Regions from separate parts of the Homo sapiens genome. Here all the other regions are linked to region 5. The links are contacts of gene promoters, found by promoter capture Hi-C in blood cells and fetal thymus (Javierre and others, 2016). All regions are on one chromosome and are shown on one strand. The core of a region is centred on a gene start or on the middle of the fragment in contact, and the rest is flanking DNA. Distances in the headings are between cores, read along the strand shown.

Evidence for each region. The method cuts DNA at HindIII sites, captures the fragments that hold promoters and counts their contacts. A CHiCAGO score of 5 or more calls a contact.
Region 1: a fragment that was not itself captured here is called in contact with the fragment with the promoter of CD300E in region 5 in 1 of 17 cell types (monocytes); the score reaches 5.1 in monocytes.
Region 2: a fragment that was not itself captured here is called in contact with the fragment with the promoter of CD300E in region 5 in 1 of 17 cell types (naive B cells); the score reaches 5.5 in naive B cells.
Region 3: a fragment that was not itself captured here is called in contact with the fragment with the promoter of CD300E in region 5 in 1 of 17 cell types (monocytes); the score reaches 5.8 in monocytes.
Region 4: a fragment that was not itself captured here is called in contact with the fragment with the promoter of CD300E in region 5 in 5 of 17 cell types (M1 macrophages, monocytes, megakaryocytes and 2 more); the score reaches 6.9 in M1 macrophages.
Region 6: a contact is called between a fragment that was not itself captured here and the fragment with the promoter of CD300E in region 5, in 5 of 17 cell types (monocytes, M0 macrophages, total B cells and 2 more). The highest score is 7.4, in monocytes.
Region 7: a fragment that was not itself captured here is called in contact with the fragment with the promoter of CD300E in region 5 in 2 of 17 cell types (monocytes and naive B cells); the score reaches 8.1 in monocytes.

What each region holds. Positions count from the first base shown.
Region 1 is chr17:74,472,212-74,475,070 of GRCh38, reverse strand. CD300A (CD300a molecule) reads right to left here. Exons shown (of 7, transcript NM_007261.4): 2 at 1,197-1,535; 3 at 386-539. Among named protein-coding and RNA genes, the nearest start is that of CD300A, 7.0 kb to the right of the region's middle. The HindIII fragment of the contact is 3,644 bases long and covers 1-2,859 here.
Region 2 is chr17:74,862,488-74,865,397 of GRCh38, reverse strand. FDXR (ferredoxin reductase) reads left to right here. Exons shown (of 12, transcript NM_024417.5): 7 at 467-574; 8 at 834-918; 9 at 1,051-1,250; 10 at 1,331-1,502; 11 at 2,152-2,322; 12 at 2,451-2,901. The coding sequence ends at 2,581. Among named protein-coding and RNA genes, the nearest start is that of GRIN2C, 4.1 kb to the right of the region's middle. The HindIII fragment of the contact is 151 bases long and covers 1,459-1,609 here.
Region 3 is chr17:74,785,288-74,788,030 of GRCh38, reverse strand. SLC38A12 (solute carrier family 38 member 12) reads right to left here. Exons shown (of 10, transcript NM_017728.4): 3 at 2,428-2,549. Among named protein-coding and RNA genes, the nearest start is that of SLC38A12, 10 kb to the right of the region's middle. RefSeq lists an enhancer at 2,618-2,743. The HindIII fragment of the contact is 4,883 bases long and covers 1-2,743 here.
Region 4 is chr17:74,436,295-74,439,179 of GRCh38, reverse strand. The region is part of intron 1 of GPRC5C (G protein-coupled receptor class C group 5 member C); the gene reads right to left. Among named protein-coding and RNA genes, the nearest start is that of GPRC5C, 5.6 kb to the right of the region's middle. The HindIII fragment of the contact is 430 bases long and covers 1,306-1,735 here.
Region 5 is chr17:74,622,478-74,625,306 of GRCh38, reverse strand. It overlaps CD300E (CD300e molecule), which reads left to right and starts at 1,569. Exons shown (of 4, transcript NM_181449.3): 1 at 1,569-1,725. The coding sequence starts at 1,686. The region is part of intron 3 of LOC101928343 (a long non-coding RNA gene); the gene reads right to left. The HindIII fragment of the contact is 4,294 bases long and covers 1-2,227 here.
Region 6 is chr17:74,381,001-74,383,831 of GRCh38, reverse strand. It overlaps LOC124904055 (a long non-coding RNA gene), which reads right to left. Exons shown (of 2, transcript XR_007065898.1): 2 at 2,290-2,826. Among named protein-coding and RNA genes, the nearest start is that of GPR142, 15 kb to the right of the region's middle. The HindIII fragment of the contact is 6,854 bases long and covers 1-2,831 here.
Region 7 is chr17:74,768,284-74,771,029 of GRCh38, reverse strand. NHERF1 (NHERF family PDZ scaffold protein 1) reads right to left here. Exons shown (of 6, transcript NM_004252.5): 6 at 1,677-2,562. The coding sequence ends at 2,374. It overlaps NAT9 (N-acetyltransferase 9), which reads left to right. Exons shown (of 7, transcript NM_015654.5): 7 at 1-501. Among named protein-coding and RNA genes, the nearest start is that of NAT9, 6.7 kb to the left of the region's middle. RefSeq lists a silencer at 26-125. The HindIII fragment of the contact is 7,456 bases long and covers 1-2,746 here.

The DNA of each region.
Region 1 (2,859 bases), core at 182-2,681, 150 kb after region 5:
ATTATAATTTATCCAGTCTCGGGTATGTCTTTATCAACGGTGCGAAAACAGACTAATACACGGAATGACAACAGTACAGGGCTGCAGTGAAAGGCAAGTGAGAATACTCATGTGAAGCATCTAACACGGGCCTCGTAGGATGTTACCAGCTGTCAGTAACTATCACTTTCCTTCCATCTGCCCCCCAACTTCCCCCCTACCTGAGCCCCCTTCCAAAGCCAAGGGCAGGTCCAAGCCGGGGTGTTCAGACTATGGCTTCCAACCTGGGCCTGGGGCAAAGGGAGCGATGCACACCTCCAGCTGGCCCACATGGCCAAGGTCCCCGCCCTGGGCTCCTCCTCTTAGCACAGGGCCCCCTCCATGTCTCAGGGGCTAGGGTGCTTACTGTGAGTTCACCACCTCCTCAGTTTCCTCCTGGATGCTGGCACTGTGGGTGGCACCCACTGCAAACAGGGTAGTGGATGATACAGGTGGAAATGCAGTTGTGATTGTTGAGGTCTTGGCCGCAGTGATACTTGCAGGTGTCATTGACGTTGATGCTGGTGGCAAAACCACAAGTCAGACCCAGGGAGCTGTCCTCTGGCTCTCCCACCACTCAGGATGCCTTTTTGGTTTGATTTCACACAAACTGCCCACTAAGGAAGGGGGCAGGATGCAGGACCCTGGGGCTAGAGTCTCTCCAGGACCCTCCTGGGCCAACTGGGCATTTCTGAACAGGACACGGGTGCCACTCCCAGTGGTCCTGATTTTCCATCCTGCTGATGAGGGTCCAGGTGCTCCTGCGAAACTCCATGCTGCAGAGGAGTCTGTCTACACTGCAAATCTGACCTGTCATGTGGTAAGGCTCCCCCTGAGGACAGCAGCTTCCCATCTGGCCCCCCAGCCTCTCTGTTCAGCCCCACCCCTCCCCCACTCAGCTGCACTTCCGTTGGGGCTGAGCCACAGGTGCGCTCCTGGCTCCTTCACAGGCAACGCTCTCTCAGCCTCCCTGTCACTGGACCCTTCCCTTCTTCAATACTGGGCAGACATGTCAGCTGCTCCAGGAGAGACCCCCTGACTGTGTTCCCCTGGCCCCCACCTCTCTCTCTCTTACGCACACACACACACACACTGTCTGCTTCACGTCTCTGATCTGATTCCTGCCCCAACAATTCCAACCTGAGCCTATTTAGGCGCTGAGGGAAGGAGGGGCTCACCCGGGAACACGGACACCTCAACCTCGACAACGGGATCATGAAAGTCTCGGAGCCATGGTGTATCCACCCCACACCAGTAGGTGCCTGCATCCTCCTCTGTGAGATTCTCCAGGGTCACTGTGAAGCTGAGGTTTGCAGGACTGTCCCTGATGGACACTCGGCCGTTCCTTTTTCCTGCTGACCCTTTGGTCTCCACAATCTTGTCACATAGGAAAATCTGTGGTGGTCTGCACCAGTATTTGTTGAGGGTCCTGTGTTCCTTCTCATAGGGACACTGCACACTCAGGGATCCCCCCACGGGGCCCGCCACGGTCCTGCATTTGCTCAGAGCAAAACATCCTGGAAAACACAAGCCAGAGTCCCAGCTCCTCCTCAGATGAGCCTGGTCAGGGGTGCCCTGGGGTCAGGGCCGCATGGACCCTGGGGGTGTGGAGGAGGCAGCGGCAGGCAGAGAGGCCTTGTCCACCCAGGAGCGGGGACTGAGGATGAGAGGCTACCTCCGCACACAGGTGGGAATGGGGCAGAGGCTTTCCATGGAGACCGGAAGAGCTCAGGCTGGGTGCCCTGGAGTCACCTCCTCCAAAGATTCCCCGACTCCACATCAGCACCCCCAGCCCTCAGCCCCTGACTCCTTCACCTCATATCAGCCCCATCAGCCAGATCACAGCTTGAGTATTCTCTTTTCTGCTCTACCACCCTCAAGATTTTGCTCATAGTAGCCCCTTTCTCCAGCCCCCTGCCTCCTTTCCCTTACCCTTCCCACCCCTCTCACCCACCAGGGGCCTCCTGCTTCCAAACCTGCCAGGAGCATGAGAACTCACCCCTAAGCACCTGCACTCCCGGGAGGGCCACCCCAGCCCTGGGCAACCCTGCAAGAGGAAGACCGGCCCACACACTGATCTGGTCCCACCAAGGGGCAAACCCGGGCAGTAATAGGGTTGTCAAGCCATTTTGACAAGAATACTGGCTGGGTACAGTGGGTTATGCCTGTAATCCCAGCACTTTGGGAGGCTAAGGTGGGTGGATCACTTGAGGCCAGGAGTTCGAGACTAGCCTGGCCGACATGGTGAAACCCTGTCTCTACTAAAAATACAAAAATTAGCTGGGCGTGGTGGCATGCGCCTGTAATTGCAGCTACTGGGGAGGCTGAGGCACAAGAATCGCTTCAACCCTGGAGGCGGAGGTTATGTTGAGCTGAGATGGCACCACTGCACTCCAGCCTGAGTGACAGGGTGAGACTCTGTCTCAAAAAAAAAAAAAAAGAGTCACAAACGCAGAAGGCTTGCTGACGAAAACTTTCATCCTGTGTCTTACCTTAGTTTGCCCAGCTCTCCTAGACTTAAATCTCGGAAATAAATGAACTTCCTTGAAAATTATGTCTGACATTTTCCCAAATAATTATCAGATGCAAAGCAAGGAGAGTAAGGTGATGGCTCGAAGCTAGTGTTGGCTGCCAAGCAGAGGACACATGGCCCCTGCCCCAGGCAGATGGGCACAGGCCTGCTGGGCAGTTGTGTGTGCAGTGTCTCAATGCCCTTGTAATTCTGTGATTAGGCCCCATATTGTTCAAGGATGGTGGGGATGGGGGCTTGCTCTTCTTTCCTTGGGTTAGAACTCTTTGATTTTTTTTTTTTTTTGAGATGGAGTCTTGCTCTGTTGCCCA
Region 2 (2,910 bases), core at 285-2,784, 240 kb before region 5:
TTCCTCCAGGACTTCCCTGAATTGGTCCACTCCCCCATCGTGCCTCCTCCCATAGACCTGTCTACTTCTGTTTCACCGCATATCATCGCCACAGCAATTTTACACACATTGATGAGTATTTGATGAGTATTTCTCTCCCCAGCAGATCACAAGCTCTGAGAGGGCCTGCTCCTTGTCTCTTTTCCTCACCATTGACCACCCCGCCCCTCCAAGCTCTTTGCATGGGGGTGAGCACATGGTAGAGGCCCACTACATACTTGTTGAATGAAAGTGTGGGCCTGGTGTGCTATTAGTTGGAGCCATTTGCAGAGTTGGCAGCAATGCTCCATCTGGCCACCAGGGGGGAGCAGTGGCGCAATTTTGAGCCGCCAGCCTTCTCCAGGCCCACGGTGGGGACATGACCAAATGGAGAGTCCCCTTTCCTCGGTCAGTGTCTGATGACTCCAAGGCCCTCCTTTTGTGCCAGAGAACGGACATCACGAAGGCAGCCCTGGGTGTACTGAGGCAGAGTCGAGTGAAGACAGTGTGGCTAGTGGGCCGGCGTGGACCCCTGCAAGTGGCCTTCACCATTAAGGTGCTGGGGCCAGAGTGGGAGGAGCCAGGGTTCCAGGTGGAGGGGGCCTCTCCTTAAGGGGTTGGGGTGGGGCAGAGCCCCTGGGAGTAGCTGCTGCCTGGGATGGAAGAAGGGGAGCAGTCAGGGCCCCGGGGGCCCTGTGCCTTTGGGGAGGAGGCGGGTGGTGGTCTCTCCTGCCTGGGCTGGACCCTGGGGTGGGCTCAGGTGGACTGTGTTCTGGGCCTGACCTCCTCCCCCATTCCCTGCTCCCACCTTCAAGGAGCTTCGGGAGATGATTCAGTTACCGGGAGCCCGGCCCATTTTGGATCCTGTGGATTTCTTGGGTCTCCAGGACAAGATCAAGGGTGAGGGGCCCTGGCCTGGCCCCCCAACTACTAGGGAGAGGGTGGCCTAGGTCAGAGAGGGATTGGGGAAGGGCATGCAGGGAGAGGGCCGGGGCCCAGGGACAGCCTGGAGACATTCTACGTTGCTGACAGAGGTCCCCCGCCCGAGGAAGCGGCTGACGGAACTGCTGCTTCGAACGGCCACAGAGAAGCCAGGGCCGGCGGAAGCTGCCCGCCAGGCATCGGCCTCCCGTGCCTGGGGCCTCCGCTTTTTCCGAAGCCCCCAGCAGGTGCTGCCCTCACCAGATGGGCGGCGGGCAGCAGGTGTCCGCCTAGCAGTCACTAGACTGGAGGTGAGTCTCATGTTTCCCAAAGACACCCCCTTCCCAGGCCTCTGCCACCCGCCTGGTGTTGCCCACACTCTCCCCAACAGGGTGTCGATGAGGCCACCCGTGCAGTGCCCACGGGAGACATGGAAGACCTCCCTTGTGGGCTGGTGCTCAGCAGCATTGGGTATAAGAGCCGCCCTGTCGACCCAAGCGTGCCCTTTGACTCCAAGCTTGGGGTCATCCCCAATGTGGAGGGCCGGGTTATGGATGTGCCAGGTGAGAGGGTGTGAGGAGGCTGGGTGCTGAATTATGGTGAGAGGCCGAGAAGCTGGTATCTCCTGGGGCCATGCGTTCATTCATCTAGCAACATGTACTGAGAAGCTTCTGCAGGGCAGGCCCTCTCTAGGACCCAGTGCCGCCCTCCTCTTGGCCCTGAGAGAAGTTCCAGTCTGGCTAGGACATATGTGACATACGTCGGGTCATTAAGTCATTCAACAAACGTTTACTGAGGTCTTTTCTGGGTTAGGCCCTGTGCTTAGTGCTGGGATTGGAGATTAATAAGGCAGCCTGTGTCCTCAGGGAGCTTCCAGTTTTACTAAGTGCCCACATACCTATCTAGTGATTAATTCACTTGGTAAACATTTACCAAGGGCCTACTGAAACTGCAGGGGAGCAAGCCTCAGCTCCTAAGCTTAGGGATCCCCTCATCTACAGGGAAACTGAGGTGTAAGGGGGTCGGCCTGGTAAAAACAGGGAGAGAAGAATCCAGGGCAGTGGACCAGCGGCCACAGCAGGCTCAGCCGACAGTCTGCCAAGAGGCGTGGGGTGTCTGTGTGCGTGCACGTGGGTGTAGATTGTGGGCACAGGATGGCCAGGGTGGTATCCAGCCACCTCCCTCCCTTCCCCTTTTGTTACCCCCTCTCAGGCCTCTACTGCAGCGGCTGGGTGAAGAGAGGACCTACAGGTGTCATAGCCACAACCATGACTGACAGCTTCCTCACCGGCCAGATGCTGCTGCAGGACCTGAAGGCTGGGTTGCTCCCCTCTGGCCCCAGGCCTGGCTACGCAGCCATCCAGGCCCTGCTCAGCAGCCGAGGTCTGGGCCCCGATGCTGAGGTCCTGGGAGGTGGGGTGGGTGGTCCTTCTCTGGGCCTCACTCTTTGGGAGGGGGCTGTTCTGGGAGGGGTGAAGGAGGAGGTGTTGACAATCTCCCCTCTGCTTCAGGGGTCCGGCCAGTCTCTTTCTCAGACTGGGAGAAGCTGGATGCCGAGGAGGTGGCCCGGGGCCAGGGCACGGGGAAGCCCAGGGAGAAGCTGGTGGATCCTCAGGAGATGCTGCGCCTCCTGGGCCACTGAGCCCAGCCCCAGCCCCGGCCCCCAGCAGGGAAGGGATGAGTGTTGGGAGGGGAAGGGCTGGGTCCGTCTGAGTGGGACTTTGCACCTCTGCTGATCCCGGCCGGCCCTGGCTTGGAGGCTTGGCTGCTCTTCCAGCGTCTCTCCTCCCTCCTGGGGAAGGTCGCCCTTGCGCGCAAGGTTTTAGCTTTCAGCAACTGAGGTAACCTTAGGGACAGGTGGAGGTGTGGGCCGATCTAACCCCTTACCCATCTCTCTACTGCTGGACTGTGGAGGGTCACCAGGTTGGGAACATGCTGGAAATAAAACAGCTGCAACCAAGAGCCATGGTT
Region 3 (2,743 bases), core at 210-2,709, 160 kb before region 5:
CAAGGTCAGGAGTTCAAGACCAGCCTGGCCAAAATGGTGAAACTTCGTCTGTACTAAAAATACAAAAAAATTAGCTGGGCATGGTGGCACATGCCTGTAATCCCAGCTACTTGGGAGGCTGAGGCAGGAGAATTGCTTGAATCCGGGAGGCAGAAGTTGCAGTGAGCCGAGATCGTGCCACTGCACTCCAGCCTGGGTGACAGAGCGAGATTCTGTCTCAAAAAAAAAAAAAAGGATACTTGAGAGACCTAGATGACAGCTGGAATGCATGAATGCTTTTGTTAACGGAGGATACAGAAGTGGGCTGCCTTCCTGCTAATAAAACCTGAGGTATGAATCCATCTCTGCCGTGGAACAGCATGGGACGAACATTCATCTCCTGCTTTCTTTTTTTTTTTTTTTGAGACGGAGTCTCGCTCTGTCGCCCAGGCCGGACTGCGGACTGCAGTGGCGCAATCTCGGCTCACTGCAAGCTCCGCTTCCCGGGTTCACGCCATTCTCCTGCCTCAGCCTCCCGAGTAGCTGGGACTACAGGCACCCGCCACCGCGCCCGGCTAATTTTTTGTATTTTTAGTAGAGACGGGGTTTCACCTTGTTAGCCAGGATGGTCTCGATCTCCTGACCTCATGATCCACCTGCCTCGGCCTCCCAAAGTGCTGGGATTACAGGTGTGAGCCACCGCGCCCGGCCCATCTCCTGCTTTCTTGAGGCCAGGACAACTCTGCCAGCAGACTCACCCCTGCCTCTCCCTGAGTGTTGACAAGGGTTGGGGGGCTGACTGCTCACCCTGACGTCAGGTGGCAGGAGGCAGAGGGGTCACTTGGCCCCACACCAGTTAAACCCACACTCACTCCCACTCTGGGGGAGCAGCCAGCTCTGAAACCCCCATTCCAATCGCCTCAGCACCTCCTAGAAAGGTTTCTCATTATCTTGCCTAAGTGACCATTTTAAGGGCTTTGGATTTACCCTTCTTTTTGGACGTGAAATTAAAATCAATCTTAATTAAGGCATAAAGAGACTTTTCATGGTTGCGCAAGGCCAACTCATCGATCACGTTCAAACACAAATGGGTTGAGCAAGGAGCGGGGTGTGGTACCCCCTGCCTGGGAGCCCAGAATGATCACTTCCCATTAGATGGCTGCCTGTGCTGAAGGTCCTTTAAAGGGGACAGCGGAGTCATGTAAGGACAAGGACTTCTAGAGCTCTTGGCTGCCAGGGCTCACTGTAGATAATGAACCAATAGTGCCCCAAGATTCACCCTCAAAACTCCCCAAAAGAAATGCATGAAGAAACTGAAAACCATGGGCGTTTTCCTATCCCATTCAGCTTCCTGTACGTCTTAGTTTGCTCCAACTACTAAGCTCCGTCTCATCCTTCCGCCCGCACCCACTCCCTCCCCCTTCAGATCCTTGCTTAGATGCAGCCCTCCCTGACCCTGCTTCAGCCGGCATCCTAGTCCCCTCGCCCTGTTACGCCTTCCTCTTTCCACAGCACTCACTGCCTTCCGGCTCACTCTTCCATTTACCCATTTATTATCTTCACTGCTCGCTGTCACTTCTCCCCACAACATAAAGTCAAGTCTGCACAGGCAGGGATCTTTGTGGTGAGGCCCCCTCAGTACCCAGAAGGGTGCTTGGTGCACAGATGGGGCAGGGTCACCTCTCAGGGGAGGTGTTTCCAGGTGCTCCTTCCCATCTCTTTTTTGCAGCTTGTGGATTCCTACCCGGTTGAGAGAATGGAAATGCCTAGTCCTAAACCCCTTCCTGGCCTGGGGCACTTGCTGACAACTTCAGACTAGTCCCTACGTGTGTGGGAATCCCCGAGAAGAGCCTCAGGTGGAACCCACCCTCCCTGAAGCACCGGCTGGTGAGGCCCACACACCTGGCTCAAGGAGTAGGCGTCCCTGAAGACCTGGGGAGGTACACAGCAGGCGAGTGCCACACTTGATCGTGCACCCAGGCGTGTGTTTATCACCTACTTCGTGAATTACCTTAAGTAAATTCTAAATTCCAAACTGATTTCCCATGTCACCTTAAATGTTTGTTAGATCTTTTTTCTGTGGCTGGGTGGTATTTTCTCAGACAGCAAAACTTGATGGTAATGTTAATAAAGCATACATTTAATAGCAGGGAGGTAAACCTGCCAGGGAAGAAATAGGCCAGCATCACGTGAAACATTCCAAAGCCTAGTGGATGTCCAGGTTTTTATCTGATCAGGGCTGTGCAACCGCTCCACAAAGACAAGCCACCAGGAGGCCTCTGTGACCACTTTCCCCTCTCTGAATACCCTGGCAAGGACTCACTGAGCTCGATACGGGGTAGACAGGTGTCTTCCCACCCCCTCAGTGCCCTCATGTTCGGGCTTCCTGGGCTGACTCCCTCCTGCTCCACTCCTGGCCCCTGTGGGGAAGTCCCCGCTGCCTCTCACCTCATGAAGCCCAGGAACACCAGCAGGACGAGGCTGACAAGCCACCCGGCAGTGGCGAATGCCTTGGGCATGGTGAGTGCGCCCGTGCCCACGATGAGGTTAAACATGTACACCAGCCCAACCTGGAACCGACAGAGGCAACATTCAAGCCCGGAACTTAATCAACTTCTCCCCTTAACAGCTCCCAAGGAACGACCCTGGTGATGGCACCACTGTGGAGGCCAGAAGGCCACACTGTAGACAGGGAAGGAGGCAGGACAGGAGAATTACACCTGGGGCCTAAGGAGCCAGGCTTGCAACCACAGAGCCTGTTAAC
Region 4 (2,885 bases), core at 271-2,770, 190 kb after region 5:
TTAGTGCCAAGTCTCCAGTTCAGAATCCTCCATTTTTTGCCTAGCTCGGAAGCGGAAGTCAAGGGTGAAATAAACGAAGTCCCCAGCTAAGGAGTTAATGACTTAATGCAAAAATTTTCCTTCGGAGCATTAACATTTTAAAAGTAAGAACCAGGCAAGGGCAATGCAAAACCCAAAGGAATTAATCTTTAATAGAAGACTTTAAGACGTTGTAGCTAGAAGGCAAGAAAATTAGCTTTTATTAACACCAGCAAGGTAATTTTCACTCCATCTACTGACTGCCGCTCTACCAAATGCCACAGATCTGTGCCAGAGAAGAAAACCAAACTCCTGCTCCCAATACCAATTGGATTTTCCCACGTGAAGTGGAGGTAATGGATTTAACAGGTTAAGAAATATTAAAGACCAAATCAATGAGTTTTTTTCCAATCAAAAGTTTTAAATGTACTTGGAGGAAACCTAACACTGAAAATTTAAATGCTGCTGGGCACGGTGGTTCATGCCTATAATCCCAGCACTTTGGGAGGTCAAGGTGAACAGATTGCTAGAGTCCAGGAGTTTGAGACCAGCCTGGGCAACATGGTGAAACCCCGTCTCTATAAAAAACACAAAAATTAGCAGCTGGGTGCAGTGGCTCACGCCTGTAATCCCAGCACTTTGGGAGGCCAAGACTGGTGGATCACTTGAGGTCAGGAGTTCGAGACCAGCCCGGCCAAAATGGTGAAACCCCGTCTCTACTAAAAATACAAAAATTAGCCGGGCGTGGAGGTGCACGCCTATAATACCAGCTATTCAGGAGGCTGAGGCAGGAGAATTGCTTGAGCCCGGGAGGTGGAAGTTGCAGTGAGCCAAGACTGCGCCACTGCACTCCAACCTGATCAATAGAGTGAGACTCTGTATGAAAACAAACAACAACAACAACAACAAATATATATATATATATATATATATATATATATATATATATATATATGAATTAGCAGAGAGTGTGGTGGCATGCACCTGTAGTCTGAGCTACTTGGGAGGCTGAGGTTAGAGGATCATCTGAGCCCAGGGGATCGAGGCTGCAGTGAGCTGCGATTGCACCACTGCACTGCAGCCTGGGCAACAGAGCGAGACTGTTTCCAAAAAAAAGAAAGAAAAGAAAAGAAAAGAAAAAGAAAATTTAAATGCTTAAAGAAACAGGTTATACGTTTCAAAATTCTATGAATGCAGGTAGTCCACATTTAAGTCACCCCACGTGTTCAAATAACTAGTTGTAACCCAGCTTCATCAGGAACTCTCTGGGAAAACAGCAACCAAGCTTTCCTGGTCTGACAGTGACCACTAGTGGCTGGCAGGGGAATGGCATTATCTAACTCTCTTCTGTGAGGCTGCCACCCTTTTTCCTTTTTTAGGGGGATTGTGAGGTTGTTTATACATGGTTTACCTCCTTACTGTTTTCTACCATTCCTGGCTACTTAATTTCTAATAGGCAAACAAAAGCCCTAAATCCCACAGTTGATAGAAATTGTCCCTCTTTTCAACACAGAAGCAAAAAAAAAAAAAAATTCTGTCCATAATTGTTATGTGAAAGAACACTTACTAAATCAGGGGCAATGCAACTCATAAAATTAAGTGAAATGGACACAATAAAGAGGATCCATTTTCAAAGTCCCTTCAAATAGTCTCCATGCCACTTGAAAATATTTAGGTCGTCTTAGCCATCTCAGCTACCTCATCTTTCAATTAAGCTTGCTTAAGATTAACTCTTAAAATTAACTATCTCATGTAAATGTACTGTTGTTTTCCTAAATAACTGGCGTTCTAATGGCTAGTTTCTCTTTACTTCTAATGCAGGACTTAAATAAGCTTCTGTAGGGGACTTTGTAAATCAATAAAGCACCAACTGCATTTTATTTACAAGTGCTGGAAAGAGGAGTAAGAGAGGGCTAAGAGGTAAGGAGTAGGCTGGGTGCGGTGGCTCATGCTGTAATCCCAGCACTTTTGGCGGGCAGATCACGAGGTCAGGAGTTCCAGACCAGCCTGACCAACATGCTGAAACCACGTCTCTACTAAAAATACAAAAATTAGCCAGGTGTGGTGGCGTGCGCCTGTAATCCCAGCTACTCAGGAGGCTGAGGCAGAAGAATCCCTTGAACCTGGGAGGCAGAAGATTGCAGTGAGCCGAGATTGCGCCACTGCACTCCAGCCTGGGTGACGGAGCGAGACTCCATCTCAAAAACCAAAAACAACAACGACAACAACAACAACAACAAAAAAGGGAAGGCGTAATATGGACCCACTCCTGGGAGATAATTTATGGATAACAACAAGCTGTGGGATCCTAAATGTTCAACTTCATCTTGGGCTCCACAGCCAAACCAGCCAGAACTTGGGCTTGAAGCTGGACGTAGGGAAGAGAACCCTCAGAACTGCCACTTAGACTCCGGACACCTGCACTTTCAAGGGCTTTTCACCCCACCTCCCTCGGCCAGGGCCCAGTTTAGAACAGGCAATTACTCCAAATCAGCAAATATTGACTGTGCGCCTGGGAAGGAAAGGCCCTGTTGTTCCCAGAGCTGTGGAAAATACAAACATGAACAAACGTAGTCCCTGACTTGATGGCATTTAAAATCTATCAAGAGAGATAAGGTAGGTACTCACAAAAATTACACAAGGAAGAATATGATTAAGGGCCACACAACGGAATTTACCTGCAGGAGAGAGACAGGGGCTACAGGAACACAGAAGAGAAACAGGCAGAGTAGAGAAAGACTGTTCCGCAGAGTTTTACTCAGAATCTAATAAAAAAACATACCAGGTCCCAGACACTGCCAAGAGACAGGGACACCCAAAAGCTAAGCCCTGAAGAATGTGAGGAAGGACTGAGCAGGTGAAGGGAA
Region 5 (2,829 bases), core at 320-2,819:
TTGCTATGTTGGCCAGGCTGGTCTGAAACTCCTGACCTCAAGTGATCTACGTGCCTCGGCCTCCCAAAGTGCTAGGATTACAGGCATGAGCCACTGCACCTGCCAACTTTTGTTCTTTATAAATTAGCTAGCCTGTAGTATTCTGTTATAGTAGAAGAAAATGGACTAAGACACAATGTTGTGGCTACTGTCAGCTCTGCTCATTCTGGATCCCTCAAGTGTGTGGCTCATGTCACACATGGGACCAGGGTCCTGGTGTTTTATTGTTCCATCCAGGGCTCTATTCTATATATAATCTATCTATCTTTCTTTCTTTCTTTTTCTTTCTTTCTTTCATCTTTCTTTCTTTTTTTTTTAGATGGAGTCTCTCTCTGTTGCCAGGCTGGAGTGCAATGGTGTGATCTTGGCTCATTGCTTTGCAACCTCCACCTCCTGGGTTCAAGTGATTCTCCTGCCTTGGCCTCCCAAGTAGCTGGGATTACAGGCACGTGCCACCATGCCTGGCTATATAATACTTCATCAGATATGGTGGTACAGAAAAGATAAGAAGTTGTGCTCTTACAACAAAAGTTTGAAATATCAGATGATCCAGTAGAGTTCTAAAAGATAGTAAAGATTAGAGGCTGTGGGTATCAAAGATGGGTATCTCTGGGGAAAGAGAAGGAAAGAAATTATATTTTCAGATAGCTATGTCTTAGAGAAGAGTATCTTCTGATGTGCAAGTTGGATTAGAGAGAATGTATAGCTAGTGGAGGGACCAGATGAGAAGCTATTTCAATGGTCCAGGACTATTCTAAAGGTATTTAATATTAACTGGGCAGTTACTATGTTCCAGGCACTGTATCAAGCACTTTACTTACATTAACTCATTTATTTCCTGTGGCAACCCTTTGAGAAAGAATTGTCATGAGTACTCTATTTTACAGATGAGGAGACTGAGGAGGAGAGTGATTTGGCAACATGCCCAAGGTCAGATGATTAATAAATGATGGAGATGAGATTTGAGTTTGTGTGACTTCAGAATCTATGCTGTTGACCATGACCCATATACTGAACTAGGTTAACAGTGTATAACCAGGTGGAGCTTCCCTATAGGAAGTTAGAAAGTAGGATCTGGAGCCCAGGAGAGATATTGGGATATTGGGTTAGAGGAAGAGGTGTGAAGTCATCCGCATGGAGATAACGGTTGAGAAAGACATGGGGAGTGATCACCACAGCTCCTTAAGTAGAGGGTGTTTTATGATTCAAAAGTAGGCAGCCATAGAGAAGGGAAGCTCCTTAGATCGATGAAGTAATCCCAGATAGGAAGAAGAGTGAAAGAGGCAGGGAACAGAGTTTTCTCTGTTGGAGAGGTTTCGTAAACTGGGACTGACTTTCATGAAATTCCGAGTCATGAAATCTCAGGGGGTGACTCAAACATTACGTTCACATTAAATGAAGGCCAACAGATTTTCCTGTTTGTGCTTGGTCCATTCTCAGAAACGTCTCTTGCCACCCTTTCTCTTCTGCTAAGTAAGGCTTAAAATTAGGAAGCATTCTTTAAAAGGCAAAAGAGGAAATAGATGAGTGAGAACACAAAGGAAACTTGGACAAGTAGAAAGTGGATGACCCAGGCTCCGTTACATATACTTGGATTCCAGCTGGGACCTAGATTTGCTGAGGACGGAAGCCAAGGAGACAGGAACATGTGGCTGCTCCCAGCTCTACTCCTTCTCTGCCTCTCAGGTGAGTGGGGCTGTGGCTTTGGGGACTTGGTTTTGCAGGGGGCAGGACAGTAGGTAGAAGAGCTGTCCTGGGTTCAAACCAGAGGTGAAGTGTCCACAGAAAAGGGAAAGATACATCCGTTCATTCACCTGTGCATCCTTCTATACATTCAATCATTCATCCACGGATCCTACAAACACTTACTGAGCACCAGATATGTGCCAGGACTGTTCTGGGTGCTGTAATTAAGAGTAACTTCTGAACTGAGGGAGTCAACTAACTACAATACAATGTGGAAATTACTGTTGTAGAGACTCATTCATGTGGTGATGAGAGTATGCAACAGGAACCCCTCACTTTGCTCTTGGAAGGGTGGGAGATGTCACTGAGGCTTCATTGGAAGTCCATCCTGCAGGATGAATGAGTTGGCTGAGTGGGAAAGGAATAGCTTATGTGCAAGTGTGAGGACATTAAAGACCATGGAGAGTTCAAGAATTAACAATAGTTCTGTTTTGACGAAGCTTAGTGTAAAGGGGTTGGAATGGTTTGTGAGAAATAATTAATGGGCTGGGCGTGGTGGCTCACGCCTGTAATCCCATCACTTTGGGAGGCCAAGGTGGGTGGATCACCTGAGGTCAGGAGTTTGAGACCAGCCTGGCCAACATGGTGAAACCCTGTCTCTACTAAAAATACAAAAATTAGCTGGGCGTGGTGATGCATGCCTGTAGTCCCAGCTACTAGGGAGGCTGAGGCAGGAGGATCGCTTGAACTTGGGAGGCGGAGGTTGCAGTGAGCCGAGATTGCACCACTGCAGCAGTCTGGCCTGGGTGATAGAGTTGAGATCCTGTCTGAAAAAAAAAAATGCCATCCTCAACATCTACCTTAAATCCTTCCCGGAACAAGGTGTGGTGTAAACAAGTAAATGAAACTGTCCTGCAAAGGTTGGACTTCAGAAGAGAAACTCTTATTAATAGACATTCAAAATACAAAACTGCAGGAAAACACATTTGTCTCTGGGGAAATAAATTTAGGCTAAAAATTAGAGGACATTCTTCATGTTTGCAGAATGAATTTTATGGTTGAGTTCCCTCACAAAACATAGAAATTGCCCAATGTAATGACAAG
Region 6 (2,831 bases), core at 139-2,638, 240 kb after region 5:
CTCTACTAAAAATACAAAAATTAGCTGGGCGTGGTGGTGGGCGCCTGTAGTCCCAGCTACATGGAGGCTGAGGCAGGAGAATTGCTTGAACCCAGGAAGCAGAGGTTGCAGTGAGCCGAGATTGTGCCACTGCACTCCAGTCTGGGAGACAGAGCAAGATTCTGTCTTAAAAAAAAAAAAAAAAGAAAGAAAGAAGTGGGGCAAGGGGGCCCAAGCAAGAAGAGCCTCAGAGGGTGGGGCCAGGCTACCAGGCCGGCCAGGGCAGTGCCTCTCTGTCCATCTCAATCACCCTTCCCTTCCGACCACCTCTGGGTACATGTCCAGAGCCCAGAGGGATACCTCTGAAACTCTGGACCCAGGGCTAAGCCCCCATGGACACAGGATGCTCACGGGGAGGGGTAGCTGAAGCCCCCATTCTCAAATCTCCTAGGGGATTATGTCATGACAGAGTGGAGCGCTGCTGCTTCTCTCTCTAAGCCTCTTGCACAATCCTCCTTCTTGCTAGAAGTGTTCCAGGGACCACAGAGGGTGTGAGCATTCCCTCCCTCTGCCCCCAGGTCTCCTCCAAACCCAGTGTACCCTGCAGAGGCTTCTGGTAGCCCTCCAGCTGCTCCCTGGCCTCCCTGTCTCTCGCCTGGGCTATCCCTCTGGCCTCCTAAGGGGTCTCCGGCCTCCTGATGTTTCAGTTCATCCTCCCTAATACCACCAGCAGGATCTTTCTAGAACATACCCTTAAGAACCATCAGGAGCTCAGTGTGCTGTATGAAGACCTTCAGTGTCAGTACCAGCCCATCATTCCAACGTTATCTTCCATCACCCCCTTTCTACCCACTAGGTCCCGGCCACACCAAACTACTCATCGTTTTTATCTAACTCCCAGCATTAGAGTTAAGGGGTATGTGCTCCTGTGTGCTGAGACACACAAAAGACTGACTGACTTCACCTTGAACCTGCCTTCTAGATCCAGGCTCTGCTAACTCTAGCATCTCCCTATGCCTTGCACACAATGGCGAGATGTACAGAAGGCAGAGAGCAACCGGCCGATTAAAATCCTGTTTTCCCCACTAACTAGTGTTCTTTGGTCAAATTGCTTAAACTCTCTGGCCCTCAGTATGTCCATGTATAAAATGGAAATAACAAGAATTCCTGCCTCGTAGGGTTATTGTGAGAATGGAATGAGACAGTGCATATAAGAAACTAGGCCTGGCGGGGTGTGCTGGCTCACGCCTGTAATCCCAGCACTTTGGGAGGCCAAGGCGGGTGGATCACCTGAGGTCAGGAGTTCAAGACCAGCCTGGCCAACGTGGTGAAACCCCGTCTCTACTAAAAATACAAAAATTAGCCAGTCGTGGTGGTGGGCACCTGTAATTCCAGCTACTTGGGAGGCTGAGGCAGGAGAATCGCTTAAACCCAGGAGGCGGAGGTTGCAGTGAGCCGAGATCGTGCCATTGCACTCCAACTTGGGTGACAAGAGCAAAACTCCATCTCCAAAAAAAAAAAAAAAAAAAAGAAAGAAAGAAAGTGAGCCTGGGAGGTGGGTGTGGTGGCCTATGCCTGTAATCCCAGCACTTTTTGGGGCAGAAGCCGAAGGATTGCTTGGGGCCAGGAGTTCAAGACTAGCCTGGGCAATATAGCGAGACCCCATCTCTAAATAAAGAAAAACAGACAAAAAAACACAGAGCCCAGTGCCTGGCACATGGAGATGCTCACAGGCTGTCTGTATTCTGTTAGGTGCCTCCCATCAGTGAGCTCTGTTTCTCCTGCTTCTACTCTGAACTAAGGCTTAGGTGCTTCACGGGGAATTGTAAGTTTGGTAGCATTTATTTTATTTTATTTATTTATTTTTTAAAGACGGAGTCTCCCTCTGTCACCCAGGCTGGAGTGCAGTGGCGAGATCGGGGCTCACTGCAACCTCTGCCTCACGGGTTCAAGCGATTCTCCCACCTCAGCGCCTGCCCTTACAGGCACCCGCCACCACGCCCAGATAATTTTTGTATTTTTAGTAGAGATGGCGCTTCACCATGTTGACCGGGCTGGTCTTGAACTCCTGACCTTGAGTGATCCGCTTGCCTAGGCCTCCCAAAGTGCTGGGATTACAGGCGTGAACCACCGTGCCTGGACGAAGCTGGGTAAGAGAAGTGACCATAGATTTAATGTAGCTCAACCTCCACATTTTACAGGCAAGATAACTGAGACTCTGAGATTAGAAACGACTCTCTTAAGATCACGTGGTGAGTGGGTGTGGCAGAAGGGCCTGGCTTTTGTATTCATTTTGCCTCAAATCACAGAGCAGTTTATGTGCCTTTATTGACTTTTATTTTCCTCCAGAAATAATATCAAGTCAAATAGTGTCCTTATAATTTGCAGGTATTAGGAGAGGGCCCTTTGGGAAAGGGTTGCATTAGCTGCCTCCCTTGAGGGTTCATGACACAGAAAGTTCTAGAAAAGTGACTGCCCCTGGTTAGGGGAATCAAAACAGCATCAGCTGGCATGGCTGGGTGGTGAGCGAACCCTGGATTGCTTCCACAGTGGGCCGCGCTAACTGTGGCAAATCAAGTCTTTCTCTGCCAGCTGGAGGAGCTGCTACTCTGATGCGCAGGTACCCAAGGCCTCAGCAGGTGTGGCTGGAATGCCACTGGGTCGGGAAAATGAGGTCTAGGACAAGCATGAGGCTCTCTTGGGTCTAACTGAGCTGATCCATTCACCTGGGAAGAAGAAGAAGGGAGGCGCCATGGAGACAAGCCAATAGGACCAAGCCCTTTGTCCTGGTCCCTGGGGACAATCCTGAGGCTGGGAAGCCAAGATCTGCAGAGTTATTCTTGGGACCTAGG
Region 7 (2,746 bases), core at 36-2,535, 150 kb before region 5:
GGAAGCAGAGGCCCCTTGGGGGTGCCCTCCTGAAGAGAGCGTCAGGCCATCAGCTCTGTCCCTCTGGTGCTCCCACGTCTGTTCCTCACCCTCCATCTCTGGGAGCAGCTGCACCTGACTGGCCACGCGGGGGCAGTGGAGGCACAGGCTCAGGGTGGCCGGGCTACCTGGCACCCTATGGCTTACAAAGTAGAGTTGGCCCAGTTTCCTTCCACCTGAGGGGAGCACTCTGACTCCTAACAGTCTTCCTTGCCCTGCCATCATCTGGGGTGGCTGGCTGTCAAGAAAGGCCGGGCATGCTTTCTAAACACAGCCACAGGAGGCTTGTAGGGCATCTTCCAGGTGGGGAAACAGTCTTAGATAAGTAAGGTGACTTGCCTAAGGCCTCCCAGCACCCTTGATCTTGGAGTCTCACAGCAGACTGCATGTGAACAACTGGAACCGAAAACATGCCTCAGTATAAAACAAACATTATAAAACGAACGCGTTGCTTGCCGTGGCTCCCTTCGTACCATGTGTACCTCAGCAATGAGAGTTCCCTTGGGGCCACCCATTCCTTCCACCAGTCTTCAGGTTAATGAAGAGTCAAAGGTCCCCCAGGGCTTCCCCACCCAGCAGGTGAGATAGGGAGGGGCCCTCCACGACCCCTGTGGAGGGGAATCTGTCAGGGGCCAAAGGGTAGAAGCAAGGGTGGGGTGGGGGCAGGTCAGCTGAGCAGGGCACTGCTGTGGTAAGGGTTTTGGATGGTTCCTCTGACAAGGAGCAGGAGATGGCCAGATAGTGACTGGCCTGGGGGACACTGTCCACTCCCTGATTCCAGATCTACCTGCTTTACTCATTCCCCTCAGCCCAGGAGCCTATTTTCTGAGAGGTGTCCCTTTGGGTTGGGTGGAGACTAGCCTGGGGGCACCTTCCTCCTGAGCACCTGCCCGGAACCTCCCGGCTCTGCAGCCTAGCTCTTGCAAGCCACCTTCCTGGACCTCCAGATCAGGCTTCAGGTGCCAAAGGTATCAGGGACCTGGGTCTTTTGTTGGGGGCAGGGCACCTTGCCCTTGAACAGTCCCTTCCACCCCAGCTAGCCACACAGCATGTCCCCGGGCTCAGTGGACCGGTTTGTTTTCCCCTGGCACTGGACACTTGCCCTCCAATCAGGTCACAATGGCCAGATAAGATAGAGGATCTGGCACCAGCCCAGCCTGCCCCTGGGAATTCTGCACCCCACTGGCTATAGGCAGAAAGAGTAAAGCCAAGTCCTCACATTCCAAACCCAGCTCCATCCTGGGACACACTTTCCACGCTTCTGGAATTAAAGGAACCTCCCAGAGTCCTCTGAGAACGTTGGTCTGAGCTCCCACTTCCCCTTGTAAATATCCCCGTTAGACAAGGGGTCCCCAGCCCACAATCGGTGCTTGCAGCCCAGCACACAGGCACACTGACCACACCAAGCTGAATACCCGGCTGGGTGCATGCATCTTCCTTCCTACAGGACTGCAGCTAGGCCCTCTAGCTAAAGCTACCCAGGCTTGGGGTCACAGGGAGCCCTTGATGGCCCTCCCTCCAGTGTACCCCACCCTCCCAGCCAAAGACCACCTTGGCTTACCATTTCTCAATTTCTACCTATAAGGGGTCCAAGGCCAGAGGACAAAACTTCCAAGGAACACACGGAGGCTGAAGGGTTTGGAGGAACCAGCTGAATTTCTGAAAGTGTTTCCTTACAATGGTGGTACCTGGCTCAGGGATGGGCAGGGGTAGCCAAACCCTCCCCGTGCTGCCCAGTTCGCTGAGGGTGGGAGTAGGAACAAAAGTTTAAGGCTGAGGCCACTGCCATGCCCTGGATGTAACAACCAGGAAAATCATGTTAATCAAGGAAACAAAAATTCCTCTAGACTCTGCAATACTGCACTCTTAACAAAAATCAAATGAAAACAAGACGTGTCTGCCACAGGTCTCAGGGTAACAGATGCCCTGTCCACTGAGAGCGGCAGTTCTGCAGTCAGAGTTCTTTGATCAGCCCTGGACCCATTTATCACATGGGGGAGGAAGGGAGGGTGCCCTCTCGCCTGGTCCCATGATCCTGGCATGGTGCAGGTTCCAGCGATGTCCCAGGCAGGGTGGCAAAGGGACACCCGGTAGGATGAGGCACTCAGTGAGGAGGAGGGAGGCAGAGTCTCCTTTCTGACTGCGGGAGGACGGGAACACATTCACCTTCCCTAAAGTCAGGGAAGAACATAGTTCTCTAGAAAAATCATTTGTCAAGAAAGGGGATGTGGGTGCTGATTTGTACATTGATTCAGGGGAGTAATTGGGGAGAAGGAAAAAGGTGGGGTGGAATGCTGGCTCGGCCCTGCCAGTCACTGGGTGGCAGCAGGGCGCTCAGAGGTTGCTGAAGAGTTCGTTTTTCTTGCTCCAGTCCATCTGCGGGGCCCGTTTGCTGCTGCGTTTCTGGTGGGCCCTCTCTTTGGCCATGGCCAGGGAGATGTTGAAGTCTAGGATGGGGTCGGAGGAGGAGGTAGACGAGGGCGCTGTGGAGTCCTGTTTTGGGGGGCTGTCTTGGGAATTCAGCTGTAAAGAGAAGTGGGGGCAGGAAGTTGGGAGTCAGTCCCTCATTAGGCTCCCTGGTCCTCAGCCTTGGTGAGGTGGCTCCGTTGGGGCCGTGCCCAGGGAAGCCAGGTCACAAGAACAGAATGCGGCTCAGCATGTGACCTCAAAGGCAGGCTGGTGTGCCAGGAACAAGTGGGGCCTGGGA